2 separate regions of the Homo sapiens genome follow, and region 1 is linked to region 2. Evidence: promoter capture Hi-C in human tissues and cell types (Jung and others, 2019). All regions are on one chromosome and are shown on one strand. The core of a region is centred on a gene start or on the middle of the fragment in contact, and the rest is flanking DNA. Distances in the headings are between cores, read along the strand shown.

Region 1 (3,065 bases), core at 211-2,710, 160 kb before region 2:
CATTTGTGTGAAGCAGCTGCTCTATCCATAAAACAAGACCAGGCTGCAATAAAAAAGAAATCAACAAATAAGAAAGTGCTTGAAATGAAAATATAATTTCTGAACTGAAACATTAAAAGTGCTGGAAGATAAAAATCAAGGAAATCCCCCAGACTGTAGGCTCAATTCTAGAAAGGGATGGAAAATACAAAAGAAGGTAAGAGAAATGTAGGCTCACTAAGAAGAACCAAATTCTGTCTAATGGGGATTTCCACAAAAGTAAACAGACTATTGGGCAGGAAATTATCAAAGAAATAATAAAAGAAAATTTACCAGAAGCTTTCAAAGGTAGCAGCTGTCTTCAGCTGAAAAGGTCCAATAAAGGGACCTCACTAAAAACAGTTAAAAAACAAACAAACACACAAAAAAACTCTACCCTCAGATATATGTTTATGAAATTTCACTATAGCAGGCATAAACAGAAAATCCTAGATGCTTCCAGAAAGAGTAAGATAGGCATCCACAAATGGTTGAGAATCAGACCAACACCAGACTTCTCAACAAGGCACTGGACACTTAGTAGACAGCAGGGCAAAATCCCTGTGTTCTCAGGGAAAATTATTATGAATCTGGAATTCTACTCCTGATATGAGGATGAAATAATAACTATTTTAGGCATGCAAGGATTCAAAGATTATCTCCCATTCTTCCACTGGGAGGCAGTTTTTTCAGGTTTCACTCGCAGTTTATTTGCTGGAGTGCAAATAAAGAGAGGGCACGATATGAGACATAAAGAATAGTGCAACTGACCCAGGAGTGAATGAAAAGAAAACAGAAGGGTAACAGCTGTGCAGCAGGCCTAATATCCCATTGATTCCAACGACAAGAAACCAGTGGACTCTGAAAAGAATGTAACAGATTCCATTTAGGAAGCAGAATGCAGAAGCTGAAAGACCTCAGGAATATGAGAAAGGTGTTTGTTTCTTCTCTCAGCAATAAGAAAAGGCAAGAAGGAAAAAAGAAGGCAATTAGAAACTACAGGAAAAACCTAAACTGCACAAGAAAGCCATGGTCCAAATGTGAAGCCAACAAAATTGTGAGCCTTTGAGTAATTGATGAAGTGGAAGAGATGGACCCACAAAGAAAATGTAATCCCAGTGAATCATCTGACCAGTGGCTAATACCACTTACAGTCTACTATAGTAGTGTATACACTGTTCATCATCTTTTCACTTTCAGCCTCCATCAACAGGCACAGCATGGAAGATTTAATCATGGCAACCTTAACAATAAGTAATGGGAGAGCTGACCAAAGTGGTGCAGCAGAAATAACGGAGTGCCAGAGTGAAAAGCTGATAGACCCAGGTGATGCCTTTGGAGAATGATCTAGGGTGAGGGACTGCTGGTTTTCATTAAGAACCCTCTGGTCTTTTGATGTCTTCCCATATGCATGGACCCTTAAATACAATGATTAATAACTCACTGGCTGCCTCAGCACATAAAGCAGTGCCTGGTGGTGAACTATACAGCAGTGTGGCTGGAGAGACAGAGAAAGGCATCACTCAGAGGGCACTCCCAGCTTTTGTCTATGACAGAAAATAATTTTATTGCGTTGACCAATGTTCCCCTACCCCTAATAGCAATGTGTTAAAAAGGGAAGGCAAGACTGGACAAAAGAAAGGGAACTCCTGTGAGCCACAAGCTGCTGCCGGAGCATCTGCTCTCTCCCCACTCCCCACGCCCTGATCCCACACTGGTCTCAAAACAACCATCACCCCGCACTAAAAGAAATCCTTCCAATTAGTTCAGAACTCTGGCTGTGCTCTAGAATGATCTGAGGAGCTTTATTTAAAAATAAAAAATAAAAAAACTATGATCTTATTCCCATCCCAGGCCAATTTAATTGGTACCTCTGTGGGGGAGGCCTTAACCCTGGCATTTTTATAAAGCTCCCAGATGATTCCAACTTGCAGCCAGTGCCGAGCCTTGACTCCCTTGCAGCCCTTTGCTCAGCTCTGCTCCAGCCTTTGCCTCCCTGAAGATGGCACTTACCATTCTCTGCTCCAAGATGCTAAGTATGCAGAAAGGAAACAAACTGTTGCCAGGAGGGCAGAACGAAGAATATCTTTTCTCTCAGATGCAACAAATATACATAATACTCTGGTTTATACAAAGATGTCCTTGCTAACTCTTGTAAAGAGAGGTTAAAACTGGAAAGAATCCCCATGTCCAGTGACAGAAGTAGTTACATTATGGTGCGGCCACAGGACATAAGGGCAGACAGTCTTAACAATAAGGATTTGTTAATGATTTGAGGTAATGAGCATAATAAAATGTCATGTGGAAAAAGTCACAATAAAAAAATCAGCTAGGTTTTATGATATGTATGTCTTAAATATTTTTTTAAAAGACTATGCCAGGCATGGGGGCTCATGCCTGTAATCCCAGCACTTTGGGAGGCTGAGGCAGATGGATCCCTTGAGGCCAGGAGTTTGAGACCAGCTTGGCCAACATGGTGAAACCCCATCTCTACTAAAAATACAAAAATTAGCTGGATATTTTGGTGCATGCTTGTAATCCCAGCTACTTGGAGGCTGAGGCGGGAGATCACTTGAACCTGGGAAGCAGAGGTTGCAGTGAGCCAAGATCGTGCCACTGCACTTCAGCCTGGGCGACAGAGCAAAACTGCTTCAAAAAAAATTTAAAAAGACTGGAAAGCAGTGGTTACTTCAGCTGCCATCTGAGCTGCCCCAGAGCTCAGCCAAGGAGGCTGCAGCCACAGCCAGGAGCCCAAAACCTGTATCTTGAGCCCACTGACAGTTGCAGGAGGCAGATAAAGAAGGGTCCCTGGAGAACCTCCATCCTGCCCCACAAGTGTTTACAACAGATGTTTTTGTGCAGATGAGGGAACCTGCACAGGGTCTTGCCTGGGTACACCCACAATGGACTGGAGACCCACATGCACTGGGGGAATAGGGTGGAGCCACCAGGAATTCGCGCCTTATGCAGGGGAGGAGCCTGGCCTCTTCAGCTCGTGTGTGGTGGCCTGATATTCAATCTGTGAGATGGGAGCCTGTTGGGAGGAC
Region 2 (3,078 bases), core at 158-2,657:
GCAGGAGGCCAGATGTGGCAGGGCAAGATGGTGAGAGGTTCCTTCTTCAAGACGGGGCAGCTATTAACTGGTCTGACGTTTCACCGCCCCGTCCCTGGCCAAAATCACATTCAGAATCCACTAGTTGCCCTCATTTGTGTATGGACAGGGTGCCCCAACAACCCTCGGGCTGGTTTTTCCAAATCCTTCAGATACTTCCCCAGCTATAATTTGAGAGAGGAAGGCCCGCATATCTTATTTCTTCTTTACACTCCAGACTGTCTCCATCAGAACCCTTTAAACAGTTTCATCTTCCCACCAAAGGCTTGCTTCCCAGCATAATCCTTCCTAAGCCTAAATCCAATCTTTGGGGGGAAGCAGGGGGAGTCAGCGGGTAATTATTAATACATTTTAAGCAGCGAGCCTCCGTGGCAACGTGAAAGGAAAGCACCAAACGCCTGAATAACAAAAATGCAGTTTCAGCAACACTTTTTGAAAAGGCGGCAGACAAGACCTGAGAGGAGAGGAAAGGAAGGGACAGGACGGCGTCTGGGGCGTGAGGGGAACAGGGGACGGCAGGCCTGCGATCACGCTTCAGGGGAACCTCCTCCGTCACCCTGGCCCACGGGTGCTCGGCTCAGTCACACGGGGAAAAGTCCAGCTTGTGACTCGGTGGGACAACGAGTCCTGCGGCCCCGCAAACTGGAAATGGGGTGGGGGCGGAGAAGGGGGGAAAGGGGATGTCCGCGCGCAGCCCACCCCGCACGGGCCCCTCGAGCCTCCATCCCAGTTCCCACGACGCACCCGCCCCACAAATCCTGCCCAAGATGAGGGCTGGTCCCGGGTCCTCCGGCTGCCGCATCAGCGAGTGCAGGAGGGAGGGGAAGCCTCCAAGGGGGGCGACGCGGGCTCAAGGATGCAACTCGGCCAGGAGTACTGGGGCCCGGAGGGAGGTGTCCGGGCCCGCTCCTCGAGCCCAGCCTGGTCCCCGACCCACTTACCTCCAGGGTCCGTATCTCCTGCTGGGTGAGGTCGTTGGACACAGCGCACTTGGTGCGCAGCCCGCGCAGGCTGCCGATGGAGATGTCGATGAGCTTCTGGAGCTGCCCGCACTGCTGCAGCGCCCGGCTGGCCGCGGCCCCTGCGCCTCCCTCCGCGGCCGCCGCATCCCCCCCGCCACCGCCCTCCTTCTTCTCTCCCATCGCCGCCGCGCGCAGCGCTGCTCTATCCATGCCTCGGCATCGGGGCCGCGGCGGCCGAGGCTGGGAGCCCGGGGCGCGGGCGCCTCGGCAAGGAACCCCCGAGCCAGGAGAGCTGGACCAGGAGCGCCCCTCGGCGCTGCCCGAGCCGGGACGCCGGTAGAGCCGGCCGCTGAGTCTGCCGCTTCCACCCTCCCAGCCGCGGCAGCAAAGCGAAAGCCGCGGCGACCCGACGGCTGCGGCTCCCGGAGCCTTTAAGCGGCGGCGGGGGCTGGGTCAGGGCGGCCGGGCATGCTGGGACTTGTAGTCCACGCCGCGCACCTGCCGCCGGCCTCCGCCCTCGGGGCCCCGGACCGCGCCCGCGCCGCCCTCCCTGCCCTCCTCTCCCCTCCCCTCCCGGCGGCCGCGGCGAGGCAGGCGGTGAGGGCCGGCCCCAACCGGGAGCCCCGGGTGGAGCTGCTCCGCGCCAGCTCCTCCCCCAGGCGCCGAGAGTCGGGGGAGCAGCGTCTCCCCGTCCGCCTCCGTCCCCCACCCGGCCTAGGAGCTTCCCGCGACCCCCGGATGGGGCGGCGCCCCCTGGACGCCCGGCGGGTGTGCGTCCCGCAGTTCCTCAGCTGCAGCCCAGCCCTGGAAGATGGGGACCAGGGAGGTTCCAGGATTTGTATGTGGGTTTAGGGGCTGCCATCTAGTGGGAAGGGGCTTACAGCACTTCTGTAGCTGGCTCACAAAGCGCTCTACTCTGGACTGCCTGCGCCAAAACGATTGCTCAGGCTTGGAGAAAGACGAAGAGCTTTCTTCTGAACCACATTTACCTGCCAAAATAAGTGTCCCATTCCCCCGCCATTCCCAGCCCACCAAGCCAGCCCAGACACGGGGGACAGCACACTGAATTGTCGGTGGCTTCGGAGCAAGTGGCCAGGATTCAAATTCTGACTCCACCACGGTCTAGGGTGAGACTTTGGGCACGTTCGATTTCCAGTGAATGCCCGACTCTCCTCATCAAATAACTCTTTAATAGGGTTCCTATGAAGAATCAGTTAATACATGTACAGCACCTAGATTGATTACTGGCACATGTGGTCGCTGGATAAATGTTAGCAATTCTTACTATCTAACCTCAGATCTGAATGTGGCCCTGGACCCAGGTAGTGGCCATGGAGCAGTACAGTACTGCCAAGGACTGGTAGTCCTTTGTCCTCTGTGCATTTCTGTGCCTCCTAACCCAGCAATCAAGCCTTGCCCATCTGTTCACCCTCCTCTCCCATTAGTTCACCCCATGCGTTCTATTATCTGGCAAAACTGAAAAACCAAGTCTCTGATCAAAGCTCCCACACCTTCATGCTTTCGACATCTGTCAACCAGAAAAAATGTCTCCCCTCTCAATTTTCTCTTGTAAGCTGCTTGATTGCAGAAGCCACTAGCTATTGTACCCTCTTTATAGTGCCAGATACAGTGCATGGCACACAAGAAAGGCTCCAGCGTGCCTCAGGAGCTCTTTCAGCAGGTCCTATGGGATGTTTCTTTTACCTCTCAGGCCAGCCGAGGGTGTGTGTGTGTGTGTAGATAGACAGTTGTTTTTTTGGTTTTGTTTTTGTGTTTGAGGATGAGAATTGGACAGGAGGTGGGATCCAAACCTTGTAGACACTAAAACAATCAATAATGGATGGCAGTTTGTATTACACCTTCCTTTAATGTTTATATTACACCAGCCTTCGAAATAAATTAAGGGCTGGGCACCGTGGCTCATGCCTGTAATGCCAGCACTTTTGAGAGGCCAAGGGGGAAGGATCACTTAAAGCCAGGAGTTCGAGACCAGCCTGGGCAATGTGACAAGACCCTGTCTCTAAAAAAAATAATAAATTTTTAAAAATCAGGTCTAGGAAGCAAAACTATAACTTTA

What was found. Contacts are between HindIII fragments. The study calls those that stand out against the background at their distance.
Region 1: a fragment that was not itself captured here is called in contact with the fragment with the promoter of KSR1 in region 2 in 4 of the 25 tissues and cell types used here (hippocampus, neural progenitor cells, small bowel and 1 more).

What each region holds. Positions count from the first base shown.
Region 1 is chr17:27,613,430-27,616,494 of GRCh38, reverse strand. The region is part of intron 18 of KSR1 (kinase suppressor of ras 1); the gene reads right to left. Among named protein-coding and RNA genes, the nearest start is that of LGALS9, 16 kb to the left of the region's middle. The HindIII fragment of the contact is 8,988 bases long and covers 1-3,065 here.
Region 2 is chr17:27,454,777-27,457,854 of GRCh38, reverse strand. It overlaps KSR1 (kinase suppressor of ras 1), which reads right to left and starts at 1,407. Exons shown (of 21, transcript NM_001394583.1): 1 at 981-1,407. The coding sequence starts at 1,211. RefSeq lists silencers at 548-597, 1,118-1,877 and an enhancer at 1,241-1,742. The HindIII fragment of the contact is 18,960 bases long and covers 1-3,078 here.